Regions from separate parts of the Homo sapiens genome. Here regions 2, 3, 4, 5 and 6 are each linked to region 1. The links are contacts of gene promoters, found by promoter capture Hi-C in blood cells and fetal thymus (Javierre and others, 2016). All regions are on one chromosome and are shown on one strand. The core of a region is centred on a gene start or on the middle of the fragment in contact, and the rest is flanking DNA. Distances in the headings are between cores, read along the strand shown.

The links. The method cuts DNA at HindIII sites, captures the fragments that hold promoters and counts their contacts. A CHiCAGO score of 5 or more calls a contact.
Region 2: a contact is called between the fragment with the promoter of DAP here and the fragment with the promoter of CMBL in region 1, in 12 of 17 cell types (non-activated CD4 T cells, activated CD4 T cells, total CD4 T cells and 9 more). The highest score is 14.4, in non-activated CD4 T cells.
Region 3: a contact is called between a fragment that was not itself captured here and the fragment with the promoter of CMBL in region 1, in 1 of 17 cell types (activated CD4 T cells). The highest score is 5.5, in activated CD4 T cells.
Region 4: a contact is called between a fragment that was not itself captured here and the fragment with the promoter of CMBL in region 1, in 1 of 17 cell types (neutrophils). The highest score is 7.4, in neutrophils.
Region 5: a fragment that was not itself captured here is called in contact with the fragment with the promoter of CMBL in region 1 in 1 of 17 cell types (neutrophils); the score reaches 5.6 in neutrophils.
Region 6: a contact is called between a fragment that was not itself captured here and the fragment with the promoter of CMBL in region 1, in 6 of 17 cell types (total CD8 T cells, erythroblasts, neutrophils and 3 more). The highest score is 6.7, in total CD8 T cells.

Annotation. Positions count from the first base shown.
Region 1 is chr5:10,306,270-10,310,090 of GRCh38, forward strand. It overlaps CMBL (carboxymethylenebutenolidase homolog), which reads right to left and starts at 1,633. Exons shown (of 6, transcript NM_138809.4): 1 at 1,356-1,633. RefSeq lists an enhancer at 911-1,411. The HindIII fragment of the contact is 4,286 bases long and covers 219-3,821 here.
Region 2 is chr5:10,759,061-10,762,881 of GRCh38, forward strand. DAP (death associated protein) reads right to left here and starts at 2,174. Exons shown (of 4, transcript NM_004394.3): 1 at 1,954-2,174. The coding sequence starts at 2,008. It overlaps DAP-DT (DAP divergent transcript), which reads left to right and starts at 1,976. Exons shown (of 3, transcript NR_187555.1): 1 at 1,976-2,156. RefSeq lists silencers at 1,730-2,159, 2,240-2,709 and an enhancer at 2,232-3,077. The HindIII fragment of the contact is 9,246 bases long and covers 1-3,821 here.
Region 3 is chr5:10,727,489-10,731,309 of GRCh38, forward strand. All of the region lies in intron 2 of DAP (death associated protein), which reads right to left. Among named protein-coding and RNA genes, the nearest start is that of DAP-DT, 32 kb to the right of the region's middle. RefSeq lists enhancers at 1-362, 3,497-3,821. The HindIII fragment of the contact is 5,093 bases long and covers 1-3,821 here.
Region 4 is chr5:10,688,685-10,692,505 of GRCh38, forward strand. All of the region lies in intron 2 of DAP (death associated protein), which reads right to left. Among named protein-coding and RNA genes, the nearest start is that of DAP-DT, 70 kb to the right of the region's middle. The HindIII fragment of the contact is 1,158 bases long and covers 1,211-2,368 here.
Region 5 is chr5:10,654,780-10,658,600 of GRCh38, forward strand. ANKRD33B (ankyrin repeat domain 33B) reads left to right here. Exons shown (of 4, transcript NM_001164440.2): 4 at 1-3,037. Among named protein-coding and RNA genes, the nearest start is that of ANKRD33B, 93 kb to the left of the region's middle. RefSeq lists an enhancer at 1,354-2,302. The HindIII fragment of the contact is 7,367 bases long and covers 1-3,821 here.
Region 6 is chr5:10,618,650-10,622,470 of GRCh38, forward strand. The region is part of intron 2 of ANKRD33B (ankyrin repeat domain 33B); the gene reads left to right. Among named protein-coding and RNA genes, the nearest start is that of ANKRD33B, 56 kb to the left of the region's middle. The HindIII fragment of the contact is 2,261 bases long and covers 655-2,915 here.

The sequences.
Region 1 (3,821 bases), core at 383-2,882:
GACAAGCAAAAGGGACTGGTGCAGTTGGGATTATAACAAGCAGGGAAGTCTAGGAATACATCTCCAGCCTCCTGGGAGAGCCTGAGCCCGGAGGGGGCAGAGAGGAGGAGGAGGGAGGTCTGGGGGAAGAGAGGTCTGCAAAGTAGGGGAAGGGAAGGCCAGGAGGGAGGGAGGCGCAGCGGGGAGGAGAGGAGAGAAGGGAGGAATACATTTCTGGAAGCTTTAGAAATTTAGAAATAGAAACCACGTGGAAGTGCATCCAGGGCTCAGGGTTACAGAGGACCCCAAGACAACACAGGAAAGTGGGGTCTAATGGGAAAGGCAGGAGGTTTCTCCTTTACTGCTTAAACATTGTAGGAACTTGCATGGCAAGTGATTTTCAATCTTGCAGCAGGGAAGGCAGGGCCAGTACTTATCCTTAGATGATTCTACAAACATCAAACTTCTCCAAATATTTATTTTTCAGCAGCCATGCTTGTATTTTCCAAGTGTCTATGGTCGAGATAGCATGAATTAGGAAGCTACCTGGATGAGCCCACAATGGCCCTCTTAGACATGCCAACGACGCCCCTGCAGAATCTGCTTTTTCTCTGGCTGTTCCTAGGCCTGGATAGGGTTCCCAGGCCTGGACAGGATTCCCCGGATACCGGCGAGGCTCATTACTAACCACTTTATTTTAAATGGGCTTTGAAAACAACAGGTGGCATCTTCCATCAGCAAGTGGACATAAATCTCAGTGCCCAGTGTTTCCAAGGCCTGCCCGACCCACATGGCTGTGGGGTGTAAACTGTCCAGTCGTTCCTGGCACACCTACCCAGCATTTAGGATGTCCCACTCTTAGATCCATAGACCCAGCACCTCTCTTCTTAATACCCACCCTAAAGAAAAGCTGTCGAATGTGGATGCTGATTTAGTTGCAAATATGCTCAGTTTTTTAATAGTTTTATATTAGTAAAAACGCTACAACCAGAATGTCTCACTGCAGGAAGAGAGTTACAAGGAGTATTTAACGGCATGGTGGAAAGGCTCCTCCGTGCTAAATGGCCAAAACGAACGCAAGTTTGCATACGGTGTGATTTCCACTATGTCTTTAAAATGCATGGCGAAACACCTACAGGAAAATACCAAAATGTAAACAGCGGCTGCTTCGGACGCATGGGATCGTGGAGGCTGCTGTTCTGCAAGGACAACGTATCACTTTTATGAAAGTCAGCTTCTGAAAACGGACTATGGGAAGTTCCTTACCCGTGCACGCGGCAAAGACCTTCTTTGCCATAGTCAGAACACACGCGGGAGTTCAGAGGAGCGGGGCCCGGGCTTGTGTGGGCTTGTGTGCCCCGGGGACGCGCACGTACCTTGTCCCGCGGCCTGAGACTGCGCTGCACCGCGCGGAGGCCGAACCCAGAGGAGGCGGCGTGGCGCCGGGCGGGGACGCGAGAGGGACGTGGACGCGGCGACCGAGGACGCGGGGATCCTGCGGGACCAGTGGCTCCAGTCGTAGCCTCCTGGGAGAGCCAAGCCCGGAGGGGGCGGAGAGGTGGAGGAGGGAGGCCTGGGGGAAGAGAAATCTGCAAAGTCGGGGAAGGGAAGGAAGGCCAGGAGGGAGGGAGGCGCAGTGGGGAGGAGACGAGAGAAGGGAGGGAGGGAAGTGTGAGGGGAGGGGAAGAAGTGGGGTGGTCGGAGGGTGGGGTAGGGAGGAAGAGGGAGGGAGAGATGGGAGAGGCTCCAAGATAAAGAAAGGTGCAGGGAGAGGGGGTGGGAGGGAGGGAACCGCAGAGAGGAAGGGAGAAGAGAATCAGGCAGCCTTGAGGGAGGAGGCAGGGAGGCCAGGAGAAGGAAGACAGCCAGCCTTCTGTGAGATTTACGTGCGTGCCTGGCTTCCAAGACAAGTAACTTCTGTTGTAAATACAAATTAAGCTATTTTTTGTTTATTTTATTTTATTTTATTTTATTTTATTTTATTTTATTTTAGAGATAGGGTCTTATTCTGTCACCCAGGCTGGAGTGCAGTGACACAATCATAGATCACTGGAGCCTCGAACTCCTGGCTTCAAGTGATCCTCCCCTTCAGCCTCCCAAAGTGCTGGGATTACAGGTGTGAGCCACCATGCCCAGCCACAATTTTTTTTTTTTTTTTTTTTTTTTTTGAGATGGAGTCTAACCCTGTTGCCGAGGCTGGAGTGCAGTGGCACGATCTCAACCTCAACCTCACTGCAACCTCCACCTCCCGGATTCAAGTGATTCTCCTGCCTCAGCTTCCCCAGTAGCTGGGATTATAGGCACGCGCCACCACGCCCAGCTAATTTTTGTGTTTTCAATAGAGACGGAGTTTTACCGTGTTGGCCAGGCTGGTCTCGAACTCCTGACCTCAAGTGTTCCACCTGCTTCGGCCTCCCAAACTGCCGAGATTACAGGCGTGAGCCGCCGCACCCGGCCCCAGCCCCAAATTAAGCCTTTTTTTAAAAAAGAAATTAATACACGTTTCATACTTGCCTCCTTCGTATTTTCTCTGGTCATCTGCCCAAGGTTATGACAACAGCTTCAACTTGGCTGCAGAAGCACACCCCTGTGGCTCACTCAAACTGGAAACATACAGGAAAAGGGAATTCTAGGAATATAGCTCAGCCTGGACAAATGGGCACATTAAAAAGCCATTGCACCGTGGTGGCCGCACTTCCTGCCATCCCCACTGCAAAGGTGTTGTTATGGACTGAATGTTTGTGTCCCCTCCAAAATTTGTACGTTGAAATCCTAACCACCCCGCCCATGGTGGTATTTGGAGGCGGGGCCTTTGGGAGATGCTTAGGTCATGAGGGTGGAGCCCCCAAGAATGGGATTTGTGCCGTTACAAAAAGAGGCAAGGGAGCTTGCTTCCTCATCTGTATGCCAGGAAGAGGATACTCACCAAGAACCCAATCCTGCTGGCCCATCCCAGACTTCCAACTTCCAGAACTATAAGAAATAAATGTTGTTTAAGCTACCCAAGTCTATCTATGATGTTTTTGTTGTTGTTGTTGCTGTTGCTGTTTTTGAGACAGAGTCTCGCTGTGTCGCCCAGGCTGGAGTGCAGTGGTCCCATCTCGGCTCTCTGCAACCTCCGCCTCTCGGGTTCAAGCAATTCTCCTGCCTCAGCCTCCTGAGTAGCTGAGACTACAGACATGTACCACCATGCCCAGCTACTTTTTGTATTTTTAGTGGAGATGGGGTTTCACCATGTTGGTAAGGATGGTCTCAAACACCTGACTTCAGGTGATTCACTGGCCTCGGCCTCCCAAAGTGCTGGGATTACAGGCATGAGCCACCTCGCCCAGCCTGGTGTTTTTGTTATAGCAGCCCAAACGGACTAAAACAGTGTTTTCCTTCTAGAGATACACTAATTTTCTTTCAGACAGGATCTTTCAAAACCCAGTCTGAAACATCTGCAGTTGAATTATTTTATGGGCTTGGAATTTCTCTAAAATAGTGGTTAGGGATTTTTTAAACATCAGAATAATTTAAAAAGTTACCAAAGTGTTATTACCCAGAACAAATTCAGGGTCAGCGCCAAAGAAAAAAATTTATTTACTTTTTTTGAGACAGGGTCTCACTCTGTCACCCAGACTGGAGAGCAGTGGAATGATCACAGCTCACTGCAGCCTCTACTTCCCTGGGCTCAGGTGATCCTCCCACCTCAGCCTCCTAAGTAGCTGGGACTACAGGCATGTCACCCAATTAAGTTTTTGTTTGTTTGTTTGTTTTTGTTTTTGTAGAGACGGGCTTTCGCCCTGTTGCCCAGGCTGAAGAAAAATTCTTGTTTCCATCCTACAATGCGCAAATTGCTT
Region 2 (3,821 bases), core at 924-3,423, 450 kb after region 1:
CCTGTAAACCCAGCTACTCGGGAGGCTGAGGCAGGAGAATCTCTTGAACCTAGAAGGCGGAGGTTGCAGTGAGCCAAGATCGTGCCACTGCACTCCCAGGTGACAGAGTGAGACTCTGTTTCAAAAAACAAAACAAAAAACTTCTTTATGGGTGTGTCTCTGTATGCAATTTAATTACTGTACTTTGGTTCTGTATCATTCCAACAGATACGCTTTAATGTAACCCATGTCCTGGGGAGTGGAGGGCCAGAGCAGGTGGCTGCTGCAGTTCCTGGAGGCAGCCCTGCCCGGGGTGGAAATCAAGGCGCTCCTCCCCACAGTGGACAGGGACCCGCTGTGGTGGAATGGAAGTCAGTTATCCTTAAAAGAAATCCCATCAAAAAAAAAACTCCCTTTGAAGTACTTTTTTTCTTAAAACCAATGCAACACAAATTCCCCCAAAACCATTTTCCATCACAGTGGAATGATTTTCTAAAACCCCATGCCTCTTAAGTTCTCTGGCATCAGTTAGACATTTTTCTTTCCCAGTGCCAGTTAGTTTTGTTGTAGAGAGCCTCCGTCACCACTGAAAAATATTGCCTACTCTGGACTGCAACATATTTAAAGAACGGCTCCTATTCATTGTGCTGGTGCAGAGAATTCCCGCCCTATAGCGGAGGACAGCAGAGAAGGATAATGGGAATCTTTTTTTTTTTTTTTTTTTTTTTTGAGATGGAGTCTCGCTCGCTTTGTCGCCAAGGCTGGAGTGCTTTGGCTCAATCTTGGCTCACTACAACTTCTGCCTCCCGGGTTCAAGCCATTCTCCTGCCTCGGCCTCCTGAATAGCTGGGATTACAGGCGCCCGCCACCATGCCCAGCTAATTTTTCTACTTTTAGTAGAGATGGGGTTTCACCATGTTATCCAGGCTAGTCTTGAACTCCTGACCTCAAGTGATCCACCCTCCTTGGCCTCCCAAACTGCTGGGGTTACAGGCATGAGCCACCGCGCCTGGCCAGGAATCTTTATTGTCAAGAAAATGGCGCAAATGTGCCACCAAAAGAAGCCATGTTTCTCAAAGACTTCTGTTCCTACAAGACTGAGTTTATGACACTAAGGCGTGCTATTAAGACCTAAAAGAACCTCACGCATCCATACATTGAAGTGACTTGGCTTCTGAGACCCAAGGCCTTTGATCTTCTCACCAGTGTCCCTCCATATGGGCCGACTGCCACTGGAAAGGAGAGTAGAAACGGAAACAGACCCGTCTGGACAGAATCCAAAGTGCAAACAGGAACTGTGCCCAGAGAGAGGAGGAGGTGGCAGAAGCATGAAGGCTGCTTAGATCCCTATGTTCTAAGAAAGACCGCTCTTTCCTGGCTTTAACTTCCTTGGCTCAGAAGTTTAGGATTTGCTCAAAATCAGAAAAAGCAACTTTGGGGGAAAAAAAAAATCTGGATGTGGAAGAAACTGGCGGTGAAAGTCATATTGAGTGATTAATGATAAAAATTATTTCCGCTCCTTGGTTCTTGAGTCGGTATGAAACGCTGGCAGCCTCTAATTAATCATCACCATGATATTAACACCACTGACTTTTCATTGCTTCTGCTACTTTCTTTCTAGACATCTGTATCCTCTAAGTAAATATTATCCGCCAAAACTTTGTTATAAGTTGTGCAACTGGGTTCGCCCAAGGCACCGGAGCCTGCGCGCAATCGCACAGGTACGCGGCCGCCCGCGGTCCTCAGGAAGAAACGCTTCGCCGCCGCCGGCAAGCGGGGCCGAAGCTCCGGCGGGCTCCTCCCGGGCCTGGGCGCCCGACCTCTCCGCGGCCCGCGCCCCTCGGGCGGGCATCAAGGCCCGGAACCCGTCTCAGCGCTCGCCGGGGCCCTCCCCGCGGAGCCCCCGCCCGGCGCCCCCGGGTTCGAGCCCGCCCCCGGCACCCGCGCGTGGAGAGAGAGGAAAAGAGTCAGTACCGGCGGGCGGGTGTCCAGCTTTAGTCTCTAGTTTCCCTTCGGGAGGCGAAGACATGACGCGGCGGGGCTTCCGCGGGGCCGAGGCGGCGGCGCGGTTCTCGGGCCGGGCGGGCGTGCGCGAGTGAGCTCAGGTGTGAGCGCCGGGGAGCGAGCGGGCGGGAGAACGACGCGCGCGCGTGGGGCGCCGGGGCCGCGCGAGCCGGGTGAGTGCCACTGCCGTTAAGGGGGCGCGGCCGCCGCGCGCCGACGTGGCGCAGCCGAGCCCACCGACGGCATGCGCACTGACGTCACCGCGGCCCGCCCGCCCTGCTGGGCCGCGAGCCAAGCATACGGTGCGTGCGCAGCCGGCCGCGCCACGTCGGATGCTGTGGCCGGGGGCGGGGGCGGGGGCGGGGGCGGGGGCGGAGGAGGGAGGGGAGAGAAGGGGTGAAGAAGTGAGAGGGAGAAGGAAGGAGAGGGAGGCGGGGTCCCCGACTGGCTGCGGGGACTGGAGTTGCGGAAAGTTAAGTAGGGCCCAGCTGAGGATGGCTCCTGCAGCGAACGCGCTCAGCCGGGCTCCTGGCTACGCGGCGACGGCTGGGTGACTGCGCCCCACAGTGCGGGCCAGGGCCGGGGCGTCCCGGCAGGGAGGCGACCGTCCCCTGAGGCCCTCAGCCCCTGCCGCGGCAGCGCCTAATGAAGCGCGGAAAGGAGAGCCCAGATGGCAGCGACGGGGGCCGAGAGAGCAGGAATTTGTTAAAAGACGATGCGAGGGGAGAGCCTGCTTTCCGAGTGAGGGCCAGCGCTGGGGAGCAGAGACGGTGGCTTCTGTCCCTGCCCTCCTCGTTATGAACCAAAAATAAAATTCTAAGCCCTGCAGCCAACGGATGGACCCTCCCCTCCGCCTGTGGCCTTCTAAGTTATCTTGAAAAACTAGTTCAGGCCTTGATGGGAAGCGGAAGTCAAACATGGCCTCACAAACATCCGCACGGAGACCCTAAGACTAATAGAGGACTCTGATAAGAAACATTTGCAGTGTATTCCCGGCTTCATCTGCATGATAACACCTTGGTCTCCACAACTCCTTCATGCAACCCGGACATTCCCTTCTACTGAGTCCAGGTCTTTAGATGATAACTCTCAACCAGTTGCCAATCAGAAAACCTTTAAATGTACCTATGACCCGGACGCCTCCACTTCACATTTTACCTCCTAAAGAGCCAACCTACATCTTACGTATTGATTGATGTCTCATGTCTCCCTCAAATGTATAAAACCAAGATGTTTCCTGGCCACCCTGGGCACATGTCATCAGAACCTCCTGAGGTTGTGTCAATGCACGTCCTTAACCTTGGCAAAATAAACTTCCTAAATTGAGACCACTCTCAGAAACTTTTGGTTTTCACCATCATCTTCCTGTTGCCGTGGCTGACCCCTGGCTCTCGTGCCTTGGATCGTGTTCTTCCCGCCTGCCCCAGTGTTTTGCAACTGCTGTTAACTTCCGCAATGCCTTGCTGGATTCGCATTCAGACAGGCCTAATCTCTTTAGCGAAGGAAACACCACCCCTCGCTTGGCTGTACTTTTCCCTTTGACAACAAAACTGTTCAGGGAGGCTGAGCTCCTCATCTCTTGTCACTCCCTCCAGTCCAGTTTGTCTGGTTTTCATCAAGTTCTGCTGCACTGCCCTCAACCATGGGAGGTCCTTTTGTGGAAGTCACTTATAACCTATGTGCTGCCAGATCCAATGGTCATTTTCTACTTTCATTCTATTTGAGCTCTTAGCAGCACTTGATGCAGCTGGCCGTCCCCCTCCTCCTTTGCTCCGGAGGTGCCACATCACTGCCTTACCCTCCAGTTCTCTGGCCACCCTGGCTGCTCACTCTGTCAG
Region 3 (3,821 bases), core at 467-2,966, 420 kb after region 1:
GGGGATGGGGCCTGCTGCCTTGCTCCTGATGCTCAAGGGCCCGACTTCATTCTGAGGGTTTAGATGGGGGGGACTGGGGAGAGGGAGAAATACATGTTGATTCCCTGGTTCTGGCTTGGACAACTCAATATCCAAGTTATGAGAGCCTAGTAACAAGATGGAAAGGGGAGCAGAGTTTGAGGGACGAAAATGGTGTGCTGTATGTAGGCAATCTGCTATGTTTCTGGGAGTATAAATTGAGATATCCAATCTATGCAGTCATCCCTTGGCATCCATGGGAGAGTGGTTCCAGCACCCCTGTGGATACCACAATCCCACAGATGCTCACATCCCTGATATAAAATAGTGTAGTATGTGCATATAACCTTCACACATCCTCCCATATACTTTAAATCATCTCCAGTTACTTACAATTCCTGATACGATGTAAATGCTATGTAAATAGCTGTTATCCTGTATTGTTTGGGGAACAGTGACAAGAAAAAAAAGTCTGTACCTGTTCAGTACAGATGCAATCATCCATTTTTTTCCTGAATATTTTCAGTTCACAGTTGGGTGACTCTGCCGTGGGTTGAACCCTTGGATGCAGAACCCACAGATACAGAAGGCTGACTGTCTATGATTAACAGGCAAAGAAAAGAACATGAAGGCGGTTGTAACTTACTTTTTTTTCCTGGATATCAGAAAGTGAAATGCTATTTTTTTGTATTTATTTACTAATATTTGTTTACAAATATTTATTCTTTTGAGAATTATTTGTTCATCTTCTTTTGAATTCACTGGGAATTTGATGTGTTTATGACTGATTTATATGAACTTCCCATTCATTTTCAGTCTGTATTAGGTTTTCAGCTATCACTGCTACTTTTTAGAAACCTTAAGTGTGGAGTTACTTAAAATCCTGGGGGAAAGATTTAGACTGAGCCCAAAGGATAGGCCAAAAAGACAAAAAAGAAGACCTCTGATGGACCAAGACTATGTTCTTTTGCCCTATTTTCAGAGCTTCAGGGAAATTAAATATAAACGGATGTATGGACAAGTCAATTCTGAGTTTAAGAAATTAAAGCAGTGCTACTAATTGATAATTTTACTGATTTGTTAATGTTCTTGAGAAAACTTGACCTTCCAGTAAGTCCAAGTAAACAGATACAATCACCAAACTCCTGGGTTCAAATTAATCACACACTAGGAAAAACATGTCTTGCCTTAGATACAACTTTCGATCACGACCACAGCACTGGACAGGGGGCTGAGGGGCTAACCCACGAAGAAGGTCTGGAGAGATACCCCTACGTGGCACCCTTGTGTCAAAGTGTGAATGAATTGGGGGGAGAGATGCGGAGAGGAAGAGGCAGGGGGAGAGGGCCAGTCAGCCCCATCCCCAGAATCAATGACATCATTTATTCTGCTTTTTTCAAAATGAACATTGATGCTGTTCCCCCAACCAGTACAGATTCACCATATTTCCACCTATCGAAATTCTATGTGCTCTTTTAGGTTCAAAGAGTATCAACTTTCTCATGTTAATTAAACAGCATGTTAATTGACAACATCCATGTTGTTAATTGTCCTAGTTTTTTTCTCAACCCACGGAACTTATTTAATATTGCAGGGTATCAACAACCCTTTTCCCACAAAGAGTGTAGGTTTCAAAAATGTCAAAACAATTCCCTCATGCCCACTTTCCACTGAAGCCAGGTATAGCTGAAAGTTAACCTTAGCTACAGAGGTCATGCTCTGCTGTTCTGTAGGTAGGAATGTTAGATAAATGCAATGAATTCATGCTCTTATAATCAAACAAACTTTATACCCCACCACCATCTTTGAAAATAGGCACCCATATCAGAACATGTGTATTTCTACTCCATCATCTTAGCTTCCCTCCCCTTCATTTCCTACCTCCCACGATGCTCCCCCAAAAAGTAAACAGCAATTACTTCTCTTAATTTAGATTGGCCAAGATTGCCCTAAATTTCATTATCACTCTGAAACTGCTACAAAGGAATGCTCAACAGATGTCATTTATAATCTTCTTTATTCCTGACTTAGATAAATTCAAAGTGATCTAGTTAGAGGTTTTGTCAAATTCTTGGAATACCAAAGATGTCCCCTATTTTCCAGTGTTCTTTCTTCGGTTGTCCCTACCTAGAATGCCAGAGCAACTACAGCCAACCACATTCTGACTAGCACACCAAACACTCTTGATCGTGCCTAGTTTGCAGGATCCTTAGCCTCAGGCTTGCCCATACATCCTGAAGCCATGTCCACAGAGATGCTACTCCAGTTCCCCTTAACAGAAAATTCATCCTTACGGCGACCCCAAGTTAACAGTGAAGCAGAAGTGCTCAGACATCCAGGAACTGCCAGAGCCTGCCTGGCGAGCTCCAGCATGCACTTGTGGGCCCACGAGGACCCTGCCTGCACAGCTGTGTCCTGGGACAGCTACCCTAGCATCTGTCTTCATTTCCTCTTTCCACATGCATTCTGCAGAAGGCCTTGGCTACCATTAATGGTGGTTACGAAAATTCAATCAGGCTGTCCTCACAGGCGGTTTTCTCAGGAGATAAAGACCCTTCACTGCCCCTTGCCTTCTGTGCTTTCTTTGCAGCATTGCTAAGTCTACTTGCCACAGCTCATCTTCAGCTGTCCATGTGCTTATCATCTGTTGTTCCCAGTGGCATGGCTGCCCTGTGAGAAGAGGGATTTTGTTTTGCTCACTAATGTGTCCCCACTGTGTAGAGTACCTGGCACAGACGAGGCACTTACAGACATCAGGGGAATAAGCAAATGCCCACGTGCAGCGAGTGGATGCTCAGATGTGCGTGCCAGGGAAAACAGCTAAGGGCTGCTGCTGAAAAAATTATGAGGACACGAAACCCTGTCCTATACAAATCTACTACAAGAGTGGGGGACTGAGAGCCCCGGTGGGGGGGAATCTTTCTCTACTGAGAGCCCTGGTCGAGAAGAATTTTTCTCTACTGAGAACCCTGGTTGGGGCAATCTTTCTGTACTGAGAGACCGGGTCGGGGGGAATCTTTCTCTATTGAGAGCCCTGGTAGGGGGAATCTTTCTGTACTGAGAGCCCGGGTCAGGGGGAATCTTTCTGTACTGAGAGCCCGGGTCGGGGGGAATCTTTCTCTATTGAGAGCCCTGGTAGGGGGGAATCTTTCTCTACTGAGAGCCCTGGTGGGGGGGAATCTTTCTCTATTGAGAGCCCTAGTGAGGGGGAATCTTTCTGTACTGAGAGCCCTGGTGGGGGGAATCTTTCTCTACTGAGAGCCCTGGTAGGGGGAATCCTTCTCTATTGAGAGCCCTGGTGGGGGGAATCCTTCTCTATTGAGAGCCCTGGTGGGGGGGAAATCTTTCTCTACTGAGAGCCCTGGTGGGGGGAATCTTTCTCTACTGAGAGCCCTAGTGAGGGGGAATCTTTCTCTACTGAGAGCCCTAGTGAGGGGGAATCTTTCTGTACTGAGAGCCATGGTGGGGGGAATCTTTCTCTATTGAGAGCCCTGGTGGGGGGGAATCTTTCTGTACTGAGAGCCCTGGTGGAGGGAATCTTTCTCTATTGAGAGCCCTAGTGGGGGGGAATCTTTCTGGACTGAGAGCCCTGGTGGGGGGAATCTTTCTCTACTGAGAGCCCTAGTGAGGGGGAATCTTTCTCTACTGAGAGCCCTAGTGAGGGGGAATCTTTCTGTACTGAGAGCCCTGGTGGGGGGAATCTTTCTCTATTGAGAGCCCTAGTGGGGGGGAATCTTTCTGTACTGAGAGCCCTGGTGGGGGGAATCTTTCTCTATTGAGAGCCCTGGTGGGGAGAATCTTTC
Region 4 (3,821 bases), core at 540-3,039, 380 kb after region 1:
CCATCACAACTGCTGAATGGCCATGGAGACTCTGGAGGCTAAAGGAGATCCCCAGCAATGAGGGTGGTCTACCCTGTGAGTACGCCACCCTTTGCAGAGGTGGAGTGGAACTCCAGGACGCAGAGGCGCCATCCAGCAGTAGGGCGCCAGCCTGGAGAGGCCTCCATGTTGGGTGTTCCTGACAGGCTCCTTGGTTGAGCCCAGCCCCACTGTGTAGTAGCTGCCACGTGAGGCTCTCGGGGGACCTGGCTATCAGGAATCTGTCTCCAGCACTGGTCCCCTGTGTGCACTGAGGACGGGAGTCTGGAGCCCAGGGGCCTGCCACAGTCCCGCCCTTCCTCCCTGCCCTCGGTGCTCCTCAGAGGTGCTGTCCTCTGGGCGTCTCCTGCATTGATCACGACAAGGGTGGGGTTCTATGCCTCGAGTATGTACCCGGAGAAATGTGTGTGAACAGTGATGATATGAGATCATGACAGCTCTGCTCTAGCCTGAGTGCTGGAAAACACACACGGAAGCTGAGGCCTAGAAACCAGCCTCTGACTCCCAGGGCACGCTCTTTCCTTTCCTAAACCCACATTTAGCACCTCACTCCCATGTGAGCTGCTCAAGACACTGTCCCATCGCAACTGCTGAATGGCCATGGAGACCCTGGGGGCTAAAGGAGACCCCCAGCAGTAAGAATGACCCTCCCCCCACAGGCCCAGCTCATTCCAGGAGTGTCCAGGGCCATGGTTGCAGGTTGCAGCGTCTAAGAGTCCACAGGAGTCATTCACAGATGGCGCTGTCCTTGTGAAACCCCAAATTCACGGAGATAGCTCCTTTGTGCTGAGTCATGACTGAATCTGCTGAGCTTTAGTGGCTTGGTGGATTCTGCTCATAAAGACAGAGGATGTCAATGAAAATCATGCTAGGCTCAGCATAAGAAATGTGCCTCTGCCAACCACTGGGTGGCGAGGGGTGAGGTGAGGCCCACCGGGTGTGGCGATGAGCCAGGGACTGGTGTCCTTTGTGCTGCATCCTATACAAAGTGGCTAGTCATTCTGCTGGATGTGGTGCTGGCGACTTGGCTGAGTGATGGCAAGACTGAGGGTCTGATGCCGCAGTCAAAGGGACTCACTCAGGATGGAAAGGCCGTGAACTTGCCCTTGTGCACACCCTGAGGGCTGACTCCGAGCTGAGGAGCAGGGACAGGGAATGTCACTCAGTGGCAAGCTTAGGTCAGAGCAGTCTCTTGGGGCACAACCAAAACAGTGTGCATTCCACCTAATTAACCTGGGGAAGAACAACATGAAGGCCTGAGACTTCATCCTGCACTGCTGTGCTCCAGCGCCCCCATCTGTTTGGCACTGGTAAGAAATAAGGCACTGAAAGAAAAGAACCCCATGTGTCCAGCACTTCCGCAGGCGAGGTCCTTGCTTTAAGACTGCACTTTTTACACAATATTCAAGAATTGTGTTGCATGAGAAAGTCTTATCGAGCCGCAAGAGGCGACTCGGCGGGAAGTGACAGGACACCAGACTGAGGGTCTCCTTTAGCTCTGGTCTGCTCAAGGCAAACGTTCTTCCTAAAGACAGTCCAAGCTCTCCCTCCCTTCTAACTTCGCTTTGAAACCCCAGCCAGCTCAGCAACTAATTACAAAAAAATTATGTACCATTTTAGCCATTTTTAAGTATACAGTTCAGTGGCATTAAGTATATTCATATTATTATGCTATCATCACCTTTATCTATTTCCAGAACTTTTTCATCATTCCCAACAGAAAGTCTGTCCCCATTAAACACTAGCTCCCCATTCTCTCCTCCTCCCAGCCCCTGGCCATCACCGTGAGTTTAACTGCCCTAGGGATCTCATGTAAGTGGAATCATACAGTACTTGTCTTTTTGTGTCTGGCTTATTCCATCTAGCATAATATTGTCAAGGTTCATTTATGTTGCAGAATGTGTGGGAATTCTTTTTTGAGGCTGAATAACATTCCACTGTACAGACAGACCACATTCTGCTTATCCATTCATCTGCTGATGGACACCTGGACTGCTGCGAATGGTGCAGCTATGGACGTGGGTGTATAAATATGTGCTCGAGTTTCTACTTTCAATTATTTTGTGTGTAACTCAGAAGTGGAATTGCTGGGTTATATGGTAATTCTGTGTTTAACTTTCTGAGGAATCACCAACCTGTTTTCCACAGCGGCTGTTCCATTTTAGATTCCCACCAGCAACGCACATGGGTTCCTATTTCCCCATATCCCTGCCAACGCTCGTTGTTTTCTGTTTTGTTTTATTCTGTTTTTTTGGATAAAGGCTCTATTCTAATGGGTGTGAGGAAGTATCGTACTGTGGTTTAGATTTAGCAACTAATTTTAAGAATAAGCTTCCCTGCCACAGAATAATAAATATCAATCTGTATTGATCATTCATTAAAGGTCTTTATGAACCAAAAGTCGCCCCCAAAATTCTTCTCTAAAACTGAAAAGGCCATAATTGGCTGTAAGGACATATGGCAGCTGCCCATGAAAAGATGGCAAAAGGCAGGCCTCTTCCAAAATGTCTAACAGCGATATGTATTTTCATGTAACTTGTCCCGTGACAGAGCGTATGTTGTGTTGAAGGTTTTCATCAAGTTTGGCCCAAAGGCTTCAGAGCCCAATCCTTTTTTCCAACTATAATTAACAGCAACTTAAATTGGCAAATAATTATTTATGACGTTTATAAAGTAAAAACAGTTACTAAACTCTTTGAGATGTGGTAGCTTGAACAAAATCTCACAAGCGAGAAACCCCAGTCAAAGGTCTGGGTGTAAGGCTGTACATGCAAAACACACCTATTTTAAATGCCATTAGGCTTCCATGCAAAGTATAACCTACATTTCTCAAGTCTAAGAAGTATGATAGCTGCTTTGAGGATTTATTTAATCTGATGAAAATCATTCTGACAGATGCTGTTTTGAAGATGCAACATTATTTTCTCTCAGGAAACAGAGAGTGAAAACTATCAACCCTGCCCGCCCCATATCCTCAGGCCTTTCCAGACTTTAAAAACTACACTTATTTAAATTGAAAAGAACTGCAAGCCAGGCAGAATTAGCCAGGATTAGAATCCAGATAACACTTCCTATACACTAGCAGAAACTGCAGCTTTTTCACACCCAGACTAAGCAGCCACCTGATGTCCGTGCACGTGGGTCTCTATTGTCCATCTGGCAAGGACCACATCAAACTCTTAAAAGGACCCTTTGTCCTTAACAAAAGTTTGCTATTACTTATTTTCTAAATTTTCTTAATGAAGATTTATACCTTATTGGCATTCTGTGGAAACTGCAGACAGACAGGATAAAATGCCAGAAACGCTCAGTGACTGAGTAACCCTGTGGAATGCAGATATCATCAAGACTGAGTTTGATGGTCTCATCTTTAAAGGAATGTGGAAAGGGCTGAGAAACCCAAATTCATAGTTTTAAAACTTCCCTAAACTCCCAAACAGCAACTATTTAACTCAATATATTCAAGTTACTGCTACCCCAACATGTAACTCATATAAAAATTGAGAAGACTTTTAACATTCTTTTGTGTTCTAAGGCTTTACACCCTCCCTCATCATCGTGGTGCTCTGACAGCCTGGTTTCTGCCCCAGTTCTGAGAGGTGTAAAGCGATGCACTCTTGTGAGTTAGAGCTGGACAGGAGGTTCCCTACCAGGCAGACGGCTGCTGCAATCTATACCTTCATCCTTTCGCAGTTGAGAGCTTAAGGGCCTTCAGTGGGGGCCGCCTGGATGTCTCCCAGGTGGGCCGGATTCTGTCTCCCTGCACTTAGTCCAGCGCCCAT
Region 5 (3,821 bases), core at 538-3,037, 350 kb after region 1:
GTTGGAGCACGTGAACTAAGAGTGACAATTTTTTCTACTTGCTTCTGTGAATAAAGTGTTCTACAGTCAGCCCAGCACTAAACTCACCAGAAAAGAGGAGGGAACAGCACGGAGCCATTCATCTGGAATTACTCGATGTGCAGAGGCTGCCCCTTGGCCGCACTTGGGAACATCGTGGACATCTTCCTTCCTCTCAGGCTCCTCCTGACAGACTCCTGGCAGCACTGGAGACCTCAGGACTATGGAGATCAGAATTGTAATGGCTTTGTCATCTCAGTGTGGCCACTCCTGAGGCAAGAGGCTCCTCCTGGGAGCAGGAGAGAGAGAGTTTGTGATGTTGGTTGGAAAATAGGATTTATGGATGCAGGAGGGCCGTGCTAGGCCCCTCTGCCCGCTTCTCTCCCTGCTGTTGGCGGTGACCAGGTCTCAGGAGCGGAGACGAGGCTGTTGTGAGTGAAACAGAAGCCCCTGGCATAGGGCCAGACCCTAGGCCTGAAAAGGATGCAAAGCCTGCTGTTTTCAGGCTGTTGGGAAGAATCGTGCGTACCGAGTGATTATGATGAAACGTATCCCAGAGAGGAAATGAATGGGACCTGAAAAGTGGGTCTGCCACATCCCTGGTAGCCCGCCTCCAAGAGCACTACACTCCCCCCAGCCCCACCGGCCACACTACATGACGTGGGAAGGCTGTCCGTTCATCCTTACCCTGGGGACTCAAGTGTGCTCTGCGGAGTGAGTCACAGCCCTGATGTGCACCCTGCACTACTCTTTCCCCAGGTGCGCCGGAGACGCAGGCTTGCTCATTTCCGTCCTGACACAGCTCGCTGTTCCTGCGGTGGTCAGAGTCCCCCTGTGCTGTGTCAGCTCCTGGACACTACTAGTCTTTCACATGATAAAGCGCGAGCACTTTTTCGCTTTTGCAGTATTTGGGGAAATTCTAACACATTTCCCGGGGATTTGCCCAGGTCCCTCCACCTCCCACGGTGGGTAACTGTGTGGATTCTGCACCTGGCAATCGGCGCTCCCCTTTGGAAACACCTGGGGGCCCTGTTTCTTCCAGCCTGGTCCTTGGTTTCTACCCCAGCCGCTTTCAGCCGGCACCTGCATGGGACTGCCTGGAGGGCCACGGTCCAGGGAAGGACAGGTGGGACCCTGACCATGACAGATCTTTCTAAAACAATAAAGTCCCATTGATGACAACTGCAGTGGGATGAATGCCATTGCAGCGGTCATGCTGGGAGCTGCCGAGAGCTTACAACAAAAGCAGTTCCTCTCAAGACACTGCTTGCATCTTCCCTCCACGCCTCTCGGTGCATTTGGAACTTGTTTATGCGCTGGTATAACTCGAGTCAGCTGCTTATTTCTGTGCCCTTGCACTCACAGGTTCCTTCATTAACATTTTAAATAAGTGGCTAAAAAAACTCCTCTGGAGGTTGTTTTTGAAAGAGACAGGAAAAAGAAACACACAGTACCTGGATTGTTTTGACTTATTTTCAAGCGACTCAGCTGAAAGCCGGTGTTGCATACACAATTTCCTCACGCTGACCCAGCCTGACTAAGACTTGATAAAAGGCACAGCCCTTGGCAGCAGGCAGTGCCAATGTGGACAGTGTACACTAAGCTGTGAGTGTGTGCACGGGCGAGCACATGTATGTGTACTCATACATCCAGATGAACTAAAGGGACACTGGGCTTTGTGCTGGCAAAGGTTACGATGCTGCTGTAGCTTGGCTGTGGGCCCCAGGCAGTGTCAGATGGAACCTGCTTTGATGGCGTGTTGTTCAGTGTACTCAGTGGGGTCTCACATGGCCCGAGGACCCACTGTGAGCACTCCGCCCGCTGTGGCACAGAACACGGCTGGGGTCATCACAGCCCAGGTCTTTATTGAAAGGCGGCTCATATAGAACCCATTTGGCCAGGTCTGGGCCATCTCTCTGCCTCTGCCCTATCTTGGCTGCCTGGAGGGGCCCAGGCCCAAGAGGATTCTTTACCCCTGGAAGAGCTCCCCAGGCATTCAGCCTATGGCCCTTGACATTTGGCTGCAGGTTACCGTCAGAATCAACACCATATCCTGAGGAAGCCCTGGTATTTCCCCAAGTCTGCCTATGTATTAGACACTCTAATCAATGCTAACACAGTTCAGTTTTTGAGGGAACTAGTTTTGTCATAATACTACACCCCTCTATTGTTTTTAAATAAGAAAAAAAAAAACCCCACGAAACTTTCCATCAAAGCAATGGTCCGTGTTGGCCTGATGCTTTAAGAAGTTTGAGGAGGTAGGTATGGAGGCACCTTAACACCAGTTTTTGAGCAGAAGTTCTAGAAGCTGATTTAGAACTACACAGCTATGGATACACCTGATGAAAACCGCAAAAGGCGATGACAGGCCCAGAAATATGACCAGCAAGCCCGTGAGCCTTTGGGGCATCCGACTGAATTTGAAAATAATACCCCATTCAGATGAACATTAAAAGCCAATGTACTGGAATTCTCTTTGTTCTGCCCGACATTTGGGGGTGTCCAAGGACCTGTGTTTTTAACAAAGATGACTTTATGACCGTTCTAAGGATTGAACAGATTCCTGCACAGGGTGCCAGGTTTCAAGTTAGGTCCTCTTAGTATAAGCTCTCTTTTTTTCTGAATGTAAACCTATTTGCATTGTCATTTCTAATAATCCAGTAGGTTTCTGGATATTGTAAAGATACTGAGTACAGATATAACTGTGTAAATTTCATAGTGTTTTATTTTGAGGTGAGAGTTTTGTTATAGTTTATAAAAGATATTTTCCTATTCAGACCTCAGGGCTATTTTGGGACCTACAAATAAATGTGATTCCCAGCAGCTTCAATTTTTGATATTCAAAAAGTTAATAATCTTTAAGCTAAATATAATGTGATATGATTCAGAAAAAAATGTTTTTCCCTTTTAACTTCTAACAAATTATGTATCTAATGTTTAAAAAATATGGAAAAAAGGGATAATGTAAAAATGTGGGAGAATTGTGGCTAAAGAATAAAAAATCACTTGTTAAAACGCATTCTTATGGTACAAATGTGTGATATTTAAATAAACTTAAGTGTGTATAAATTAGAGAATGATACAGTGAAATATACCAGGATTTTTCATGTCACTTCTTTTCATTGAAATAGACGTTCACTTTCTTATCGTGACAAACTTTCACCTTATTTTTCAAAGGTAAGATTTAAAAATTGTGAGTTCCCCACAAATAGTTTGTCACATGTTCAGATGATCTCATTACAATCTGCCTCTTCTCAGAAGAACCCACTGGCAGGTGGGCATCCTTCAGGGATGTTGCCATGAATTTATGTACATACATAAAAACAAGAATATAATTCAGTTTCTATGTGTTCTTTTACCTAAATGGTACACTGTACAGGTTGTCCATTAGTTTCTTTTCTTTACTTAAAATATGTCCCTAGAGAGCTTTTTAAAGAATTTAAATATTTTCTTTTGACAGCTAAAAAAGTAATACACAAATATGAGAAAAAATGTAAACATTGTACAAAGTTCTCAGATGAAAGTGACTTTACCTTCCCCCAAGACAGTCCCTCAGACCAGCTACTTGTACATCCTTTTAGAAATACCTTTTGAATGCGTTCTTCCCTCCGTACTGTGCAAACAGAACCCGATGGGATATAGAGTCTCATTCACTCACTGTGTTTTGGGAAGGGCATGTTGGTCCCTGCTTTGTTCTTTTTCATTGCTGTGTAGTATTCCTCAGCAGAAGTGCACCATGGTTCATTTAACCATTTTCTCATGGGTGAACTTTTCAAATGGTCCCGGTTTTTATGATTTGCTAG
Region 6 (3,821 bases), core at 535-3,034, 310 kb after region 1:
CAGTATGGGCAGATCAAGCTCCGATACTGCCCAAAGTTTTTGAATATGAATCTGTACCAGAAAGCCACCCTTGTCACCGCTTCACCTGAAGCCTCACACTCCATCCTGCTCCCGAAGACTGGGGGTGGCACGAGGCTGGCAGACCCACCAGTGGAAGAGACACAATCATGTGTCTCAGTGATAGTTAATCATGAAAGTAGACACGTGTAGAAGGTGACTTTGCACTTCACCTGTAGAGTTAAAGAAACGCCAGGAACTGTTTCTGAGAGCTGTTAGAGTATCCGTGTAACAAGCTGAGATGAAGTCAGTGGGAGCATCTTGTGAGCGGGTATCCAAGCATGTGGCCCTCAGCCCATCAGTCATCAAGAAGACAGTGCTTATGTCAATATTGCCAAGTGCATTGCGACTCTCCTGCTTTGGAACTGTATCCAGACATTTTTTTGAGGACAGACATGAAACCTATGCTTGCCTCTTCATAATCACACTTCATTTGGAACAGTGGTCTTGACCAGGTTTATCACTGACCCCTTTCACATTTCTTTGCCTCCAAAGATTCTGTCTGTTTCATCGGTCAAGTTCTCAGTTGCAAGCAAAGAAGCTGCCTGCAGCTGAGCCAGGAAGAACAGGCGCTTGTGTGTTGAAGGAAGGAGGGGAAGCTTACACGGTTGTCGGGTTGTTGAGAATCCCACTCAGGGCCTGGAAACTGGAGGAAGTGCCCCCGACCACACTGTATGTTGATTCTGGTTGGGAAATGGCTGTTGCTGTCACCAAAAGGAGACCTCCTTGTCCCTTGTTGCTTCACAAGCTCCTGGACCAAAGCCACCCTGGGTGGATCTGATGGGTGGGGGGCCAGGGAGGCTGGAAAACCAGTGTTTGACAGTTTCATCCCCTGTGGTGGGAGTGGTCTGGGCACCCTACTTTTCAATCAAGACGAATAGAGTGGGGGAACTCTTCAAACTTAGAAAGGGCCAGGGGCTGTGCTAACATGTGTTCACCTCCTCAGGTTTCGAAGCGTGAGGCATCACTTCCATGGAGGGTTCCAGGCTTTGAAAACCTAGCAAGAGTGTGAAAGGGCTTTGTAAGGCATTCAGTGATTCGTTTCCTCTCGTGGGCCAGCTGCCATGTCAGGGACCAAGGATACAGAAGTGCAGGGCAGCCCCGTCCTTGAGTAATTCTGCAGCTCATGGGACAGAGAAACACACGAAGCCCAGCACCATCTGTCTGCCGGAGCTTGGTGCTGTGGGATGAGAACACTCTATCTAGCCTGAAGTTCATGATAAGGTCTTGCAAGAAGGGGATTTGAGCTGGGGCTGAGAGGGAGCCGGGCAGTTCTCAGGAATGGCGAGTCTTAGGGACAGTGTAGGTGGGCATGGCTGTAGGATGGCGTGTGTCTAGGAGAGATGAGGGAAGGATGGGGACCAGACCATTAAGGGTCTAAGCCCAATGCAAGGGAATGTATTTCAGTAGCGTGAGGCTGCGTGAGTGGTGACAGGGGTGAGAGGATCCCAGGGGCGTAGCAGAGGGCTCAGAGCACAGGGAAGGGCCGGGAGCTGTGTGGCTAGAAACACAGTTGGCGGTGGTGGTGATGCGGGCCATGGAGGAGAGCTGGGGGTCTAGGATGGCTTTGGGCTTTGGGACAGGGGATAACACCAACTGCAAAGGGCATATAAGTAAAAGAAGATGAATGGGAGGAACATTGGTTTTGAGCTGGCTATCATGACTTTGAAATGCTCTGAGACCTCTAAGTAAAGAGGTCTCCATGGCAAGTCAGGAAGAGAAGGAGCTCCAAAATCTGGTCCCTGCTAGAAATACAGATGAGGGACAGGTGTTGCTGGTGAGAGCTGGGACAAGGATTAGGTCATGACAATATGAGAATGTACGATAAGAGGGGATTTCTTTTCTTACTGATCTGCCAGAGCTCTTTGTGCGTTAGAGATAATAGCTGTGCTTTGATACCCATGAGGTGCTTTCCAGAGTCTTGCCTGTTTGCAGGTGTTTTGATTTTATATTCACCCATGATTGTTTCTTCAGAGTCAGGAGCACATCGTATATTTTTGGCAAGAATATGGCATTGGCCATGATATGTCCTTGGTGTGTCCTATCAGGACACATACTGCCAGTGTGTCCTGGTGTGGGTGATGCTAAATTTGACGAACTGCTTACATTTCTCCATTTTAAAGGCAGATATTTCCCCTCTGTAATTAGTAAGTAATCTGCAAGGTGATACTTAGAGATTGTATGAATATCCTGTTTCCCCACCAGTTTTTGCCATTGATAATCCTTTTCTGAATCATTTATTTTACACTTATTATCTGATATTTTTCTATAAAGAAGAGCTTTCCTTTAGCCCCACCCTTTTTTTGGTACCATTACTCATTTTTTAAAAATCTCGTGTGTTCTACTTCAATAACGCCTTTGTTCTTTTCAGTGCTGAAGTTATCCCAAACCCAGCCAGTTGGTAACCCTGAAGATGGCTCCAGTGTCCTTTTGTCATATTTCTGTCAGTTTTGAGTATTTTCTTGATTTATGGCACACCAAAGTGTTCCACATTCTCCCTGGACTTTCCCAGTCCCTGTCTGTAACCAGCTGTATCTTCAAGGAATGATAGTTCTTTTTTTAGTGAGGAATGGTATTTAGAAACCAAAATCTGGACTCTAGCTGTGCTCATTCACACTAAATGTTATTGCTTCTAGGCATTTCAGTGAGCAGAGTTAGAAAAAAAAATATTTAAAAAATAAGGATACCTCCAATCCAAATGCAACACCATAGTATTCCTCCTCTTCACCCTTTCCATATGCTTCCCCCATTCTTTGTCGGCAAGAAACCTGGTTTGCAGCAATCACAATGCATTTACCCATTTTCCTGTCCTACGACAAATGTGCACAAAGTGGTGATACTAAAGGATAATTTTCAAAAGCTTAAAAATTTGACTCTTAGGTGGACAGAAAGTGAAAACTCATTAATTAGTGATGGGCTAGTAATTAGTTAAGGCCAGTTCAAAGGAAATTTGAAGAACAGGCACATAGAGGCAATCACAAATGCTGAAATACATCTGCTAATAGATGCAAAACTGGTTAATATCCTATAAGGCAATAGAATATAATGTTGTGGGTTATCTTTTCTATAAGGTGATGTTATGGACTGAATGTTTATGTCCTCCCCCTCAAATTCATATGTTAAAACCCCAACTCCCAATGTGATGCATTAGAAGGTGGGGATTTGGGGAAGTAATTAAGTTTAGATGAGATCATGAGAGTAGGGCCACCATGATGGGATTAGTGTCCTTATAAGAAGAGGAAGAGACCAGAGCTCGCTCCTTCCCCACCATGTAAGGACACAGTGAGAAGACAGCTGCCTGCAAACAGGAGGAGGAGCCTCCAGAACTGTGAGAAATAAATGTCTATTGTTTAAGCCACCTAGTCTATGGTATTTTGTCATAGCAGCCTGAGCTATAACAGGAAGTAAATTATATCTCTACCAGATACAATGCAATTGCCTTGCTGTGGACAATCAGTTTTACAGCTTAACTTCTAACCTTGTAGAGTTGTGGAGCAGCCTAGGAACTGAATACTGCCAGAGGGTCCCCTGGACAGCACCCAGAACCCCACATCCAGCACCAGCACTTCCCTGGAGGGAAAAGAGACCCAGTCACCTCATTAGCTCAGTTTCCAGCTATGAACAGTTTTTTTTTAACCAAAGAATCAGAAATTAGAATACCACCACTGCTACCAGCATCAGACCTAAGTAAAAGCCCATATTTCTTTGTGGTTGTTTTCTTCCAACATATTCTACCAAAAGTTATTGGTCTTATAGCACCATAT